3 separate regions of the Homo sapiens genome follow, and regions 2 and 3 are each linked to region 1. The links are contacts of gene promoters, found by promoter capture Hi-C in blood cells and fetal thymus (Javierre and others, 2016). All regions are on one chromosome and are shown on one strand. Each heading gives the region's core, a stretch centred on a gene start or on the middle of the fragment in contact. The rest is flanking DNA. Distances are from core to core; before and after follow the strand shown.

The links. The method cuts DNA at HindIII sites, captures the fragments that hold promoters and counts their contacts. A CHiCAGO score of 5 or more calls a contact.
Region 2: a fragment that was not itself captured here is called in contact with the fragment with the promoter of OR52W1 in region 1 in 2 of 17 cell types (neutrophils and monocytes); the score reaches 7.5 in neutrophils.
Region 3: a contact is called between a fragment that was not itself captured here and the fragment with the promoter of OR52W1 in region 1, in 4 of 17 cell types (monocytes, neutrophils, M1 macrophages and 1 more). The highest score is 7.8, in monocytes.

What each region holds. Positions count from the first base shown.
Region 1 is chr11:6,197,445-6,200,725 of GRCh38, forward strand. It overlaps OR52W1 (olfactory receptor family 52 subfamily W member 1), which reads left to right and starts at 1,780. Exons shown (of 1, transcript NM_001005178.1): 1 at 1,780-2,742. The coding sequence starts at 1,780. The coding sequence ends at 2,742. RefSeq lists enhancers at 1,594-2,094, 2,095-2,595. The HindIII fragment of the contact is 17,873 bases long and covers 765-3,281 here.
Region 2 is chr11:6,108,672-6,111,952 of GRCh38, forward strand. It overlaps LOC124902622 (a long non-coding RNA gene), which reads right to left. Exons shown (of 3, transcript XR_007062565.1): 1 at 3,270-3,281; 2 at 1,593-1,677. It overlaps OR56B4 (olfactory receptor family 56 subfamily B member 4), which reads left to right. Exons shown (of 1, transcript NM_001005181.2): 1 at 1-164. The coding sequence ends at 67. Among named protein-coding and RNA genes, the nearest start is that of OR56B4, 2.6 kb to the left of the region's middle. The HindIII fragment of the contact is 4,061 bases long and covers 1-3,281 here.
Region 3 is chr11:6,130,280-6,133,560 of GRCh38, forward strand. No RefSeq gene overlaps it. Among named protein-coding and RNA genes, the nearest start is that of OR56B4, 24 kb to the left of the region's middle. The HindIII fragment of the contact is 5,709 bases long and covers 1-3,281 here.

The sequences.
Region 1 (3,281 bases), core at 530-3,029:
TTTTGAGTGTTGTGCCCCTAACTTCATTTTTCCAATAGGCCCTGTGGTCTTTATTGTATGACTTTACATAGTGTGGTGAGTTTAAGTCTCCTTATAATAGAAAGAACTGTATTCAGTAGACTTGTGGTTGATGGTGAATAATTCTTTTTCTTCATGGATATCTAAAGCTCCTGAAACTGTAGGAGCCCCTATTAGTCAGCAAAAGCTGTTTGGACTAGCAGTCTGTCCCACACTTAAAAGCAATATATATTTATTCATAGCTAACTACATGCCAGACATTGTGGTAAGCAGTAGAGACACTGTAGCTAATAAAAAGCAATATCTGCAACTCTTTTTGTCTCGTGGGGAATTGAGAGACAAGAAATTACAACAGAGTGGGCTAGATGCTATTAAAGAATAAACCAAGGAATTTTCTCCCGGACTTCAGTGAGCCAGCAAAGACCTCCCTGAGAAAGTGTTCCTTGCCCAGATCTTTCCACCTGATAGTCTCTTTCCTGGCTTGCCCCCATCTCTGCCTCCTTACTCTACTTCCTGAGTCACCAGCCCATCAGCACTGAGCAAAGAGATACAAAACAGAGTTAATGTGGCACAGGTGGGAGGGAGAAAGGCCCTGAGGGAAGCAGGTAGAACAGCCACATAAAGAGCCCCACAGGCACTGATTAAAGCGAAGAGAAGCTGCCAACACACAGTGCTCGAGATCTTTCCCAGTCAAGCCTTCTGCTGGTGATTTCTTCCTCATTCATTTATCCATTCAACATGTATTAAGCTTCTTAGGTGGGCTGGATCCCACCTAAGTCAATCTACTTGTCCTGCCTCCTCCAATGTCAGAGATGCTTCTTCCTCAGATGGCTGCTACTCTGAGTTGAGTGCCATTTTCTCCCTCTATGTCACCTCCACTCGCTCTGGCATGCCAGGAATGAGACTCTAGTGGGACCCACTTTTGTACCGTGAAGAAGGAAAGGAAACGGAGAAGAAAAGTCCCGTTTCGTACTGCCATCTCTCTCTCTGTTGCTTCCCAGCCCCAACTTCAACTCTCCAGCTGGTGTTCAGCATCAAGTTCAGAACGTAAGCACCCTGCACCCCAAAAACCCAGCAAGTTTTCCCTTGCCACACCAAGCTCCCAGATTCACTCCAGATTCCATCTGCCTCCCACTACGGTTTCTCCCTTTCTTTATACTCTGCCTCCTCTCTTCCTGGATGGTTGGTGCTGAGAATGGGCAATTGCTCAGAGCTGGGCAAACCTTAATATCACTGTACCCACCAGGCCTATACAGCTGAAGAAGCTGAGGTCCAGAGATCTTGCCCAAGGATACACAGGCAGGGACAGGACAGCCGGAAGCCTGATTCCCCACCCTGCCCCCAGCACTGGCTTTCTCCTCATATAGAGACTGAGACTGACTCTATTTGGACCCTGAGGAAGAAAAGTATTCATCTCCACTCCACCCTCTGCTGACATCCAATTAGAAGGCTCTCTCAGGCTATCTATACCAACCACTGCAGCAGGCAGCCTCTTCCTCACTACCCCTTCCTCCCACTACAATACATATAGACTTTTAGGAGCAAAGGATTCTCCTATCTTAGCTAGAATTGCGACCTTAATTATCCATCCAAACCCCCCTAACCAAAAGTTATAAACCTGTGATCCTCCCAGCCCTGCACTACTCCTACACGTATGCCATGGATGGGTTTGTGCCACTGTGAGACCCCCAAAATCTCTCCCCTTATCTTCCCTGTCAGGAGTCATGCCCCCATGAGCCCTCAAGTTGTGCCCACCACAGAATGGCAGAAACTCTACAACTCAATTCCACCTTCCTACACCCAAACTTCTTCATACTGACTGGCTTTCCAGGGCTAGGAAGTGCCCAGACTTGGCTGACACTGGTCTTTGGGCCCATTTATCTGCTGGCCCTGCTGGGCAATGGAGCACTGCCGGCAGTGGTGTGGATAGACTCCACACTGCACCAGCCCATGTTTCTACTGTTGGCCATCCTGGCAGCCACAGACCTGGGCTTAGCCACATCTATAGCCCCAGGGTTGCTGGCTGTGCTGTGGCTTGGGCCCCGATCTGTGCCATATGCTGTGTGCCTGGTCCAGATGTTCTTTGTACATGCACTGACTGCCATGGAATCAGGTGTGCTTTTGGCCATGGCCTGTGATCGTGCTGCGGCAATAGGGCGTCCACTGCACTACCCTGTCCTGGTCACCAAAGCCTGTGTGGGTTATGCAGCCTTGGCCCTGGCACTGAAAGCTGTGGCTATTGTTGTACCTTTCCCACTGCTGGTGGCAAAGTTTGAGCACTTCCAAGCCAAGACCATAGGCCATACCTATTGTGCACACATGGCAGTGGTAGAACTGGTGGTGGGTAACACACAGGCCACCAACTTATATGGTCTGGCACTTTCACTGGCCATCTCAGGTATGGATATTCTGGGTATCACTGGCTCCTATGGACTCATTGCCCATGCTGTGCTGCAGCTACCTACCCGGGAGGCCCATGCCAAGGCCTTTGGTACATGTAGTTCTCACATCTGTGTCATTCTGGCCTTCTACATACCTGGTCTCTTCTCCTACCTCACACACCGCTTTGGTCATCACACTGTCCCAAAGCCTGTGCACATCCTTCTCTCCAACATCTACTTGCTGCTGCCACCTGCCCTCAACCCCCTCATCTATGGGGCCCGCACCAAGCAGATCAGAGACCGACTCCTGGAAACCTTCACATTCAGAAAAAGCCCGTTGTAATGTCCAGTGGTAACAATGGAGCCTAAGAGTGGAGGTGAGGGGACAATCGGAGGGGAGTCTGGGGGTGTGGATCATGTTATTTTCATCCCACTGCATATGACTGTTATCATCATTTAACAGGTACTTGCTGTGGAGTCCCTATGTGCAACACTGGCATCTGTAGACTTTGACTTAAACATGTATTCTGCTTGGGAGGAGGCAGGAGGTAGAGGTCAGGGGGCTACACTACCATGCAGGAAAAATTAGTGAAGGACCATAATAAACAAGATCTAACAACTCCCTTTCCTGCTCCCCACCTCCATTATTTCAACCTAAGTCTGCCCACGTTTCCACACAAAAGCTCCTCTATAGATCCCAAACTTGAGGGAAGTGCTTGGCACTGCCGCAGAGGGTGGCGCTGTCCCTGGAGTCAAGTGCTTGGGCACCCGTCTGAAATCACAGCCCTCTCTACTCCTGGAGCCAGATTCTGTTTTCAGACTGCCCTCAGGAAACGAGTTCTACAGGCTCATCTCCTGCCTTCCGATAAACTAAATAATGTG
Region 2 (3,281 bases), core at 319-2,818, 89 kb before region 1:
CAGGATGCACAAACTCAGACTGGGCTTTCAGAGACTGCTTGGACTGGGTCAGGACGTGTCCAAGTAACTCCAGCTTTAGGAATCCAGTAAGATGTTAGGAAATGACAGAGGTTTTAGTTCTCAATAGATCAGGGTTATAATCTGCACTTACCACACTCCCTAGGAAAAAAATGGCCAATAAAATCATGAAAACTGTCAGCCTCACTAATCAAAATATGTATATTAAAATTACAAGAAAATTTCCTATTACCTGGAAAATAAGTAAGAACAAAAAAGTGAAATGTTTCTAACTATTACTGCTAGCCTACCCCGAGATTAACACTTTCCTACACAACTGGTAGGACTATAAACACACCAAAAAGCAATTTGGTAAAATTTATCAAAATGTTTATAAATGTTTAAATGTTCTTAACCAGTAATTCTATTTTAGAAAAATATCCAAAAGAAATAGTCTAAATGCAGTCAAAAAGTTATTCATAAAAATCATTATAATATGACTAATAATAGAAAACAAAGCCTTTAATATTTACACATATTTAACTCTTACATATTTATGTGCTTTTCATATGTAATTTTTATAATAAAAAGTAAACAATAAATGTTTATTAAAAAGGAGTAAAGTTTAATTTTCGTACCCAAAAAAATCTCAATAATTAATGAATTAATGGTTAACAAGTGTTAAATACTTCTTGTAGGCCAGAAACTTTGATAAAATATGTATGTAGATTATCTGACTCAATTCTCACAATAACCCTTTGGGCAGGTACAATATTATTCCCAATTTCCAGCTAAGAAAACTCAGGCACTGGAAATTATAGAACTTGCCCCCTGACAGCACAGTTTCTAAGTGGGAGAGCTGGGATTCAAGTCCTGGGAAGTCTGATTGAAAAACCATAGCACTATTCTTACTCTCAGTCTTGCTCTGTTCCAAAATTTCTGTGTGAACTTGAACAACTTATGAAACCTCCCTATGTTTCAATTCTTCTGATTAAAAGTGACAAAAATCATAACATTTTGCTGAGCCAAATCGCAAACATGCTGTGACAATCAAAAGAGATAAAGAATACATGCTTTGAAATAAGATATACACATGGAAATATAAATCTAACTATGTGGCAGTTTTCTTGCTAGGAAAGGAAGAAAATGGATCCTAGAAAATGCCCTATAAAAATAGTTTCAAATAACCTGTTAATTAAAGCTAACTGAATTTTTGCTGTTTGCTCACCTAAAAAAATTGCACACTTTTTGAGTACAAGAACCATTCATGTGTACTTTCAATGAGCCTCAGTCAGAACATTGCACACAGTAGGTGCTTAATTCATTATATAATCAGGGAGCATTATAGATCTGTTGAATTATGTGTATCAAAGAAAATACCTGGACCATGGTCTGAATAATGACCTCAGGAAGTTTGCACATGAGTCCACCTTGGAAAACAACTTCTTAGGAAATAGCACAAGGACTAAAGCAACATCAGAAACCATCAGCTCATCTCACCAGAGTAATGCATGCTGGGCAGCATAACAGAGCTGCAGGGGGAAGTCATCTGTGTGCGGGACAGGACTTCTTAAGAGTTATGCTTGGAAACTTACCCAAAAAGAGACTATCAACTTCCTCCAAAAGAATTGGCTGCTTCATTCTTTCTTGACAGTGATTCAAATGGAAGCAACTGATCATCTAATAAGAGGAGGCAAGAGAGAGACAATTACAGAAAGGATTTTAACTTAACTCAACCTCCCATGGTTTGTTACCCTGAAGGATCAGAGTAATAACATCTAATCCTGCAGAGTTCTTCACAGTTTGCAAAATACTTTCCCACAGTGGATTGAGTAATTTCACATAATTTTCATAGCAGTCCTCTTAATTAGGAAGCTGTTAAAGGATTACTATTAATTCTTTTCTACAAAGAAATAGGGGCTAAGTTTGGGTAATTATATAAATTCACCCACTGGGAAGTGGCAGTACTGAGGCTCAGGCAGTTTAGCTGTCTCTGGTAGATGGCAATAGTGTGCCATCCTCAAAGCTGCCTTTAAACTTTCATTCATACATACCTTTATTTATTTATTTGTTTATTTATTCATTCATTCAAAAATACATAGCATGAGTCTATGCACAGCAGCCCAAATTGTAGGCCACTCTCAACAACTTCTGTGGACATGTGTCTCAGTTCTTCTGAAAATAAATAAACACCTAACATTCATCTTGGAGTCAGGAAGATTTATGCAATTAATTATTCTCTCCTCTATATGTGCCATGAGGATAAAAAAAGATTGTGCATTGTTTTATTTTTATGAATTATTTATGTTTGTCATGTATTTCATATTTGCCCATATGCTTTGCTTTATATGATTTTAATACTGTCATACTATATTTGCCTGTTTGTCTTCTCTCATTCACTTCTTTCCATATTCCTTTGATATTTTAACTTTAGTCTGTCTTTTGGAAACACCGTTAGTTTGATCTTTATTTTTAACCATATTTGAGGAACTTTCCCTTTAAATAGGGGAACTAAGTCCATTCATATTTGTTATAATTCCTATGATTTTGTTTTGTTTCACCCTGTCATCTTATTTATTTTTATTATGTTTTCTGGCAGATTTCTCCTACTCCTGACTTTTGCTGAACTGATCTCTTTCACACATCTCCCCACATCCCCATTTCATTGATCTGCACATTTTATTAAATATATCTATTTGACAGGTTGTTGTATGCATAACTTTATTAACACATTCAAACTTATACTTTTTTATTAATATGCCCAAATTACATAATAGTTATGCAGTATTTTCTCATTCCAATTCCAAGCTCAAGATAAGAACTTTATCATTTTTATGTCTCTTTTATTCTCTGTTGAACATCTCACTGAATATGGCACATTCCAAAGACAAGCATAATAATAGCTCCCACCTCACATGCTCTTTTGCAGTGAAACATTAACAATTCCGTATCAAGAAATTGAACTTAGTTCCCCTTCTCCTTGAATCTGAGCCTCACTGATTCACTTTTAACCAAGAGAATGTGACAGAAGTCCAAAAAAAGCCATTCAGCATCCACTTGTGTCTCCTGGAAAATTTGCTCCCTGGTTGCTCCCTGGAGGATGCTCCCTGTCAGAATCCAGCTGTCACGTGATGAGAAGTCTAAACCACATGACAAGGCCAAGTATGGGGACTCTAGTCAACAGCCCCAGCTGAGCCCAGCCTTGGAATCATGCTAGCCCAGGAAGTCTAACATGTGAGTGAAGATGTCTTCAACAGATTCCAGTCACTAACCATTTGATCACC
Region 3 (3,281 bases), core at 348-2,847, 67 kb before region 1:
TCACGCCTGTAATCCCAGCACTTTGGGAGGCCGAGGTGGGTGGATCACCTGAGACTGGGAGTTGGAGATCAGCCTGGCTAACATGGTGAAACCCTGTCTCTACTAAATATGCAAAATTAACTGGGCATGGTGGCGCATGCCTGTAGTCCCACCTACTCGGGAGGCTGAGGCAGGAGAATTGCTTGAACCCAGGAGGCGGAGGTTGCAATGAGCTGGGATCACACCACTGCACTCCAGCCTGGGTGAGAGTGAGACTCTGTCTCAAAAAAACACAAAAAAAAAAACAAAAAAAGAAATCTCAATGAAGTCTTGTAGTTCAATGACAGTATAAAGGACACCAAAGGTCTCTAAAGAGGAACTTTCCTCATAAGAAAAATGATATATGTTTGGAGACAGAGAGAAGAGAAAGTTAGTAAAATTGTTTCTTATTTATTTAAATGCTAGAGTATGTAGCTCAGCAAGGGTGAAATATTGGCTGCAGGATGAGGTTGGAAGTCTATCCTGACCCAGTCACAAGGCATTATGGCAGACTTTGTGAAGAGAAGCCTAACTTGTGCCAGTAAATTTGAAAGTCCATGTGTGAGAACCTTAAGCCATCACAACTCAGGCACTTAAATCATCTTCCCTTTGATAGAGTCAGATAGCGATAGCAAGGCATTATGGTATCTTTGGACAAAGCAGAATTGGACCCTGTGCTTTCACCTGTTTTTAACAGTGACCCCACATATCAAGAAGAGAAAGTAACTGCACTGTATCACTAAGGATCTTTACCTGACCACATCCTTATAAATGTCTCATTATAAGTATGCCCTCCTCAAAGTATTCAAATTGGAATGGGTTGGCTAGGTGCAGTGGCTCAATCCTGTAACCCCAGCACTTTGGGAGCCCGAAGCAGGCAGATTCCCTGAGGTCAGGAGTTCAAGACCATCCTGGCCAACATGGCGAAACTCCTGTCTCTACTAAAAATACAAAAATAAGCTGGGTGTGGTAATGCATGCCTGTAATCCCAGCTACTAGGGAAGCTGAGGCAGGAGAATTGCTTGACCCAGGGGGAGGAGGTTGCAGTGAGCTGAGATCGTGCCACTGCACTCCAGTCCAGGCGACAGAGGGAGACTCCATCTCAAAAAAAATAAAATAAAATAAAATAAAAATAAAAAATAAAAACAACTGGGTTATCTGTTTTGTAATAAGACTAACATTCTGCTCATTCAATTTGGGAGTATGCAAGTCATTAGAAAGAGCAGTTTTGCTGGGCGCGGTGGCACACGCCTGTAATCCTAGCACTTTGGGAGGCCGAGGCAGGTGGATTACCCGAGGTCAGTTCAAGACCAGCCTAGCCAACATGGTGAAACCCCGTGTCTACCAAAAATACAAAAATTAGCCGGGTGTGGTGGCAGGCACCTGTAATCCCAGCTACTCTGGAGGGTAAGGCAGGAGAATGGCTTGAACCCGGGAGGTGGAGGTTGCACTGAGCCGAGATCGTGCCACTTTACTCCTCCAGCCTGGGCAAAAGAGCAAGACTCAAAGAAAGAAAGAAGGAAAGAAAAAGAAAGAAGGAAGGAAAGAAAGAAAGAAAGAAAGAAAAAGAAAAGAAAGAAAGAAAAAGAAAGAAAGAAAGAAAAAGAAAAGAAAGAAAGAAAAAGAAAAAGAAGAAAGAAAGAAAGAGAAAAAAAGAAAGGGCAGTTTCAACACAGTGATAGGACAGATTTTATATGGATGGCCATAGATTTTAAAGATAAAGAAGTGAAGGCAATATACAAGAATGTCTCTTACAAGAGGTTGGGTCAGTGAAAAGTAGACCTTAGGGATACAGGAGAGAGACTAAGAAGTGCCATCGAAAGACCTAAGATGTATATGGAATTGAGGTATTTTTTGAAACTGGCAGTCCTTGGAATCTTTGTATACTAAGGAGCATGATTCAGGAGAGAGGAAAAGACTGTTAATATAGGAGAGGGAATACAATCACATCTGTTCTTTTATTTTGAACACACACATATGTTAGTTAACAACACTATTGATATATTAGTAAACAATTTAAGCCTAACTGAATTTTACATTTGCTTATGTTCAATTTCATCCACTAGAAATACTGACTGAATGCAGTGTCAAAAGACAAAATTACAATGAATTTAGGTTAAAAATACAATTGGCTTTGATTTATTATTCTAGAATCAGGTAACACCTCATTGTATAAAATATAATGAGGGGTTCTGATTAGCTCAGCAGAGGAGGTTGGCTTTTTAGCCATAAAAGAGCTGAAGAAAGTAGAAACAGAGAACAAAAAGCAGGTTGGACATTTCAAAGTTTCTTTCCTGATGGAATTAAAACAGAGGAGAATTCCATATTATGCTGACTCAGGTTGACTGAAATTTCTGTTATTTGATGGAAAACTGGCCCATTTCAAAGTTTGGTTTGATTACCTGGCACCTAGCACAAGTGACTCCATTCTGATTTGAGCTGGTCTGCTGGGGCCTAGTATAGAAGGCTAGTCCAAAACAATAGTATCCCATAAACTTTGTTTAACCATTCCCCCCGCTTTGGGTCATGCTCTCACCTAGGTTAGAGCATCAGTGCCACTCTCCATCACCATTGTTTTGAGTTTTCAGTCTCATCATGTTATTCATAGATTACAGTGTCCTTGTTATCATGCATCTTCTGGAGTTTGTCATGCCAGGCAGAGAGAGACCATTTAGCATTCAGCAGATGGCTGCATGTAGCTATTAAGATTTTTGAGAGTATACAGCACGCTAGGAAGATTACTACTACTACTATTGTGACTGACATGGTTTGGCTGTGTCCCCACCCAAAGCTCACCTTGAGTTGTAACAATCCCCACATGTCAAGGGCAGGGCCAGGTGGAAATAACTGAATCATGGGGGCGGTTTCTCCTATCCTGTTCTCCTGGTAGTGAATAAGTCTCACAAGATCTAATGGTTTTATAAATGGGAGTTCCCCTGCACAAGCTCTCTTGCCTGTCATCATGTAAGACATGCTTTTACTCTTCCTTCATCTTCTGCCATGATTGTGAGGCCTCCCCAATTATGTGGAATTGTGAGTTCATTAAACCACTTTCCTTTATAAATTACCCAGTCTCCGGTATGCCTTTATTAGCAGCATGAGAACAGGCTAATATGTTGACTCTAAAGAGGATAATACCAAAAGTTTGAGTATGCCCTTCGGCCAGAGTCCCCATGAACAAAACCAACTAAAATTAAATAGATCAAAGAATGAGCTACATGAGGAATCTACCCACTTTAACCAAGTAGCCTACTCATTTATTT